Linked DNA regions of Homo sapiens: region 2 is linked to region 1. The links are contacts of gene promoters, found by promoter capture Hi-C in blood cells and fetal thymus (Javierre and others, 2016). All regions are on one chromosome and are shown on one strand. The core of a region is centred on a gene start or on the middle of the fragment in contact, and the rest is flanking DNA. Distances in the headings are between cores, read along the strand shown. Region 1 holds the start of SYDE1 (synapse defective Rho GTPase activating protein 1). Region 2 overlaps AKAP8L (A-kinase anchoring protein 8 like).

The links. The method cuts DNA at HindIII sites, captures the fragments that hold promoters and counts their contacts. A CHiCAGO score of 5 or more calls a contact.
Region 2: a contact is called between a fragment that was not itself captured here and the fragment with the promoter of SYDE1 in region 1, in 1 of 17 cell types (endothelial precursors). The highest score is 5.8, in endothelial precursors.

Annotation. Positions count from the first base shown.
Region 1 is chr19:15,106,119-15,109,346 of GRCh38, reverse strand. It overlaps SYDE1 (synapse defective Rho GTPase activating protein 1), which reads right to left and starts at 1,946. Exons shown (of 8, transcript NM_033025.6): 1 at 1,826-1,946; 2 at 1-291. The coding sequence starts at 1,913. RefSeq lists an enhancer at 1-260. The HindIII fragment of the contact is 2,464 bases long and covers 1-2,404 here.
Region 2 is chr19:15,386,514-15,389,830 of GRCh38, reverse strand. The region is part of intron 12 of AKAP8L (A-kinase anchoring protein 8 like); the gene reads left to right. Among named protein-coding and RNA genes, the nearest start is that of AKAP8, 8.4 kb to the right of the region's middle. The HindIII fragment of the contact is 3,136 bases long and covers 390-3,317 here.

The sequences.
Region 1 (3,228 bases), core at 697-3,196:
GCTCAGGTGCTGGAGGTCTGGGGTCTTCCTCAGGGATGGGGTTGTACCAGATCTCGCCGGCGGGCTCCCCAGTGCCAGGTACCCCAGGCCCTAAAGAGGTGTCCTCAGCTGGCTTGGCCCCACCCAGCACCCATCGGCGGCTACTGGGCTCCAGGCTTTGCAGGTAGGCTCCCCGTGCAGGGCTCCTTGATGCCTCGGGGCTGGAGGGCCCCTCTGCTCCGGCCTGGGACCCTTCGGGAGCCTGGGGCTCTGGCTCTGGAGGGCTGGGCTCTGGGCGCTGGGCTGGGTGGCCTGGCAGAGAGCAAGGGGAGTGAGACCCACCCAGCCCCTCACTGCCTGCAGAGCAGCCCTGTGCAATTGATCAGTGGGTGGGATGCTGTGTACGGCCCTGGCCGGCCCCTGATAAGTCATGGTTCCTTGGATCCTGCTGTTTTGTTTGGAATAGGCAGCCACAGGCTAGCGATCTCAGTTATCAGCTTAGAGCACCCCCTACTCAGTCCCTGGCATCCCAAAAGGGGACTCCATCCCTGCAGCCTCAGGGTTCTAAGTCAGGCTTCCTGGGGCCCGTAGGTACTGCGTTCCAGTCTCCACTTCCTCTACCCTCTCAATAACCGTGGCATGGAGCTTTGCACCTGCGTGGCCTTGGGCAAGTCGCTTCCCTCTCTGAGGCTCAGTATCCTCCTGTGAAATGGGGGGATGTGATTTCCATGTCCAGGGAGGCTTCCAGGAGCCTTTTGGAAAAGTATACAGCCCACAGCAGGCACTACGTGCTCAGGAGTGAGGAGCTGGGTTTTCTATTCCCTGCAGCACAGTCACTCCCAGTCCCCTGCCCCTTTTACCCTCCCTCCTGTCTTCCAAACTCTGTCGCCATCCTGGGATGGGCCCTTGTCCCTCAGCCCAGGCCAGACCCCCCACGCTCAATGCTTTGGGACTTCCCCTTCCCTCCCTCCTCTCCTGTCTCATGTCCTGGGCTGTTTCCTGTGTGTGTTTGTGTTTGGGCATCTCTGTCCCTTCTCCCTTCCCTGGGAACATTGGGAATCTTTGGGAAGGCCTGGGGGGAAGGGGTACGTCCATGGAATGGTCTGGCCTTCCTCCTTTAACTCCTTCCTTCCTGGGTCCCCCTATCCCACGCAGCTGTTTCTCTAAGGTTTTTACTTGCTACCCTGCTGAACTCCTCCTCTGGCCACCTCTGATGTCCACCCTCTAGGGTCTCTGTTTGTAGCATAGTCCAAAGAGCTGTTTAAGTCGATGGCCCTGGGCACATGACCCAATTGCTCCGTGCCTCAGTTTCCCCATCTGTATAAAAGGGACAGTTTCCTGGGGCTAAGGCAGGCGCAGTTGCCGTCACTGTTAGTAGGTGGGAGGCGGAGGGGGCAGCTACTCTGATTGACGGGCCGCCCCTCTCTTTCCTTTGCAGGAGTACGCCTCCCATCTCCCATCCTGCGCCTCCAGGGCTCCCGATGCCCCTTGCCCAGCCCGACTGGGCCCCAGTGTCCCGGCCTCCCAGCCCCTCCTCCCCTCCACCCTCCAGGCCCTCAGTCGCGGCCCCATTTCCTGTCGTGGGCGAGGCCCCCTCCCGGGCCTCCCAAGGAGCCCGCAGCGCTGGCATCCCCGGCCAGCAGCACATAACGGTCCGCGCCCCCCTCCCTCCCAGCCCCTTCCTTCCAGGACCCCTACCCTCCCCTGGCTGGAGGCACCCCAGTCTGCAGCGGGGTGCGGGGGGCTCCCCCTGATCCCCCCCACCGTCTGTCCTCGGGGCCCTGGGACCCCGCTCCCAGGCCGGGTGGGGCTCGGCGCCCCCTGTTCCCCACCGATCTCCGCTTACCGCGCTCCTTGGCGTCCGACTTTTTCCGGGGAAGTTTCTCCCGGCCCCGCAGGCGGGAGAAGGTTTTCCTGAGTAGCGGCTCGGCCATGCTGCGGCCCGGGCCGGGCCGAGCCGAGTGCGCGCCCCGGGCTCCGGCCGCGCCGCCCCGCGCCCTCCCCGCCCCGCCCGGGCCTCCCCGCCCGCCCCCCGCCCCGCGCCAGCAGGAAGCACATTCCGGGAATGCTTGGCCCAAACTTTTTTTTTTTTTCCCCTTTCCCGCGGCCCGAGCGGGCGATGCTGGGAGATGTAGTTGCCTGGGGCCGGGAGGGGTTGGAATGGGGGCTCCGGGTGCCCGGATCCGCTCCAGCTTCGATGGGACGTGACGATCGTGGCGCAGGCCCGATCCCTTGTCTTCCACCTCACCCACCCTCCCTGGATGGGACTCTGGGTGATGGCATCCAGGAAGTTCTCTTGGGTCTGTCTCCAAATCGCAGCCTCCACGTATCCTCTCTCTCCTTGCCAGGTACTGCTTCAACCTGGTGCAAGCCGTAGTGTCATTCGTTTCAATGACCGTCCCCACTACCCACCCCACCCCAAGCTTCTTCCTTGGTCTCCCCATGCCACTCTTTCCCCACTCAATTCTCTCACCTCCAAATTCCAATTACTACTGCTGTTTGACAAACCATCCCCAAACGTAATGATGTAAAACAACCATGTCGTGATTGTGAAAGGAAAATAAATCTTGAGACCTCCAAATCACTGAGCCAAAAGGAAGAAGTCAAACTGGTAACTGTGTAGGACAAACCTGCCTCCCATTCTATTCCTAAGTAAGATAGCTACAAGGTTAAAAAAGCTAGCTGGGCGCGGTGGCTCACTCCTGTAATCCTAGCACTTTGGGAGGCTGAGGCGACGGATCACTTGAGGTCAGGAGTTCGAAACCAGGCTGGCCAACATGGTGAAACTCCATCTCTACTAAAAATATGAAAAAGAAAAAAAATTGGCCAGGCATGGTGGGTGGGCACTGGTAATCCCAGCTATTTGGGAGGCTGAGGCAGGAAAATTGCTTGAACACGGGAGGTGGAGGTTGCAGTGAATCAAAATTGCACCACTGCACTCTAGCCTGGTCATCAGAGCAAGATGCCGTCTAAAAAAAAAGAAGAAAAGAAAAGAAAAAAAAAGCTACATACCTCCCCCACAATTTGCCTACAAGGAAATTCCTTATGGATGAAGGACAGGCAGAACTCAAAATTGTCCCTCTGCTCACATGAGACAAACACATATCTGATCGCTTCCTTACCTATTTGTTTCACTAAGCCAGACTAAGGCATAAGTGACTATCTCTGTAAATTGCATATTCAGAAAGGCTAGTCAGAAACTCGAAAGAATGCAATTGTTTCTCTCTTATCCACCTATAACCTGGAAGC
Region 2 (3,317 bases), core at 708-3,207, 280 kb before region 1:
CTTTGTGCATCTCTCTGTGTTTATTCTACGTGGAGTTTGTTGGGCTGGTTTTTTGTTTCTTGAGACGGAGTCTTGGTCTGTGGCCAGGCTGGAGTGCAATGGCACAATCTCAGCTCACTGCAACCTCCGCCTCCCAGGTTCAAGTGATTCCCCTGCCTCTACCTTCTGAGTAGCTGGGATTACAGGTGCACACCACCATGCCCGGCTAATTTTTTGTATTTTAGTAGAGATGGGGTTTCACCATCTTGGCCAGGATGGTCTCGATCTCCTGACCTCGTGATCTGCCCGCCTCGGCCTCCCAAAGTGCTGGGATTACAGGCGTGAGCCACCACGCCCGGCCTGAGCTGCTTTGATGTATAGATTACAGGTTTCATCAACCTTCCAAAGCTTTCAGCCATTGTTTCTTCAAGTATTTTGTTTTCCTACTCCTTTCTCTCTTTCCTCTTCTAATGCTCATTACCCGTATGTTGGATCACTTAATAGTGTGCCATGGTTGTCTGAGACTGTTCATTTTACCTCATTTTTTTCCCTCTGTTCTGCAGATTGTATAATCTCTTTTGATACACAAGTTCACTAATTCTTTTTTTTTTTTTTTCTTTTTTTTTTGTGATGGAGTCTCGCTCTGTTGCCTAGGCTGGAGTGCAGTGGCGCCATCTCTGCACACTGCAAGCTCCGCCTCCTGGGTTCATGCCATTCTCCTGCCTCAGCCTCCCAAGTAGCTGGGGACTATAGGCGCCCACCACCACGCCCGGCTAATTTTTTGTATTTTTTTTTTTTTTTAGTAGAGATGGGGTTTCACCGTGTTAGCCAAGATGGTCTCCATCTCTTGACCTTGTGATCCGCCTGCCTCGGCCTCCCTAAGTGCTGGGATTATAGGCGTGAGCCACCGAGCTCGGCCAAGTTCACTCTTTTTTAGAGATGGAGTCTAGCTCTGTCGCCCAGGCTGGAGTGCAGTGGCGCGATCTCGGCTCACTGCAAGCTCCGCCTCCCAGGTTCATGCCATTCTCCTGCCTCAGCCTCCGGAGTAGCTGGGACTACAGGCGCCCGCCACCACGCCCGGCTAATTTTTTTGTATTTTTAGTAGAGACGGGGTTTCACCATGTTAGCCAGGATGGTCTCGATCTCCTGACCTCATGATCTGCCCGCCTCGGCCTCCCAAAGTGCTGGGATTACAGGCGTGAGCCACCGCACCCGGCCCAAGTTCACTAATTCTTAAGTTCAAATCTGTTGAGTCCTTCAAATGGATTTTTGGTGTCCGTTATTGTACTTTTCAGCTCTAAGATTTACCATTTTATTATTATCATTTCTATCTCTGTGTTTAAATTGTTTCATGAGACAGTGTCATTATACCTTCTTCTACTTGAGTTTTCTTTAAACCTATTTACAATTGCTACTTTAAAATGTTTGTTGAATTTGACATCTGTTCACTGTCACAGGAAGTTTCTATTGTCTGCTTTTTCATCTGTGCCTGGGTCAGAGTTTCCTTTGGATGTCTCATAATTTTTCACTGTTAACTAGACATCTTAGATAATTTGTTGTGGCAACTCTGGGCACTGATCCCCCACCCACCCTCCCAGGGTCTTGTTACTGTATTTGCTTGTCTATTTGTTTAGTGACTTGCTAGATTTTTTTAGTTAGGTCTCTTTCATTCTCACACAGTATGAAACTGGTGGTGTGTCTTGGAGGGAGGAAGCCATGGGCTCGCTCTTTTTCCCAGACCATACTCAGCTGTTAAACTCTACCAATTGCTGGCTGATTGCTTTATTGTTTTCAACAATGTTTTGGGGCATAGATTGCTGCCCAATCTGATCCAATTAAATTTGGGCTCCTTTATAGGGATTTTTTTCCCCTCCCCTCCCCGCCCCCTCTCCCAGACAAGAGTCTTGCTCTGTTGCCCAGGCTGGAATGCAGTGGCGCGATCTTGGCTTGCTGCAACCTCCACCTCTCAGGTTCAAGCAATTCTCCTGCCTCAGCCTCCCGAGTAGCTGGGATTACAGGCATGTGCTACCACGCCCGGCTAATTTTTGTATTGTTAGTAGAGACGGGGTTTCACCATGTTGGCCAGGCTGGTCTCGAACTCTTGATCTTATGAGCCACCCACCTCAGCCTCACAAGGTGCTGGGATTACAGGCGTCAGCCACTATGCCAGGCCCAAGAGGGATGGTTTTTGAGGTGGTTGTTTGAGATTTATTCTGAACCCAGGGAGTCTGTTCTTAGCTATTTCACTGGTCCTTGTCCTCTTTGGTAACCTAGTTAGCCTATGGGTTAGCTAATATCACTGTCAAATCTACCGGTCCTTCTTTTTTATGGCTGTGTGGTGGGGGAAAAAAAAAAGGACAAAGCTATCAGTGTTTAACTCCAATAAATATTCAGAAAGAAAAAAAAAAGCTATCAATGTCCTTTTAATTTTTTTCCTCCCTAGTCTCCATTGTTTTTGAGAGAGGCCCTAGTCTTGCACTTCCCAACACTCTTGCCAGTGAAGTCAGTCAGTTCCTTTGAGATTGGGAGTTTACTGATTTAAGGCCGTGCTCTCACTGTGGGCAGAATCTCTGAGCCAAGGCTCTGGGGATGGAGACAATGGAGTACCTCTCTCTGAGTGACTCTGCCACTTTAGGAGAGACATGGGAGGAGGTACAGTAGGCTGTAGCCTCCGGTCTTGGTTTGCCTTTCCTGGCATGGGACCTCTGCTTTATGAACAAGCCATGGGTATGTGAGCCCTTATATTCTTAGTGTGCCATGCCCAGGGTCAAGCCTCCATTCCACGTGCGTGTGGCTGGGTAGAAGATAGGAACCGTTCTCTCTCAGCTATGCTTGTCTAGAACTTAGCCTCATCAGCAGGTAGCTGGGGGCGGGATGAGAGATACTGACATCCGGCTGGGTACAGTGGCTCACGCCTGTAATCCCAGCACTTTGGGAGGCCAAGGTGGGCAGATCACCTGAGGTCAGGAGTTCAAGACCAGCCTGGACAACATCGTGAAACCCCATCTTTACTAAAAATACAAAAATTAGCCGGGCTTGGTGGCGGGCACTTGTAATCCCAGCTACTCGGAAGGCTGAGGCAGGAGAATTGTTTGAACCCGGGAAGTAGAGGTTGCAGTGAGCCGATATCACGCCATTGCACTCCAGCCTGGGCAACCAAGAGTGAAACTCCAACTCAGAAAAATAGATGCTGACATTCTGTTCCTCCTGGGAAGATATCATACCCCTTAACTGAGATGATCTGGGTAGATGCGGGCAGACCTGTCTTCTTGGCTGTACTGTCTGGAGTGGAGTTTCCATCACACTAAGCTGGGGGAGGCAGGGATGCAATAGGTTGT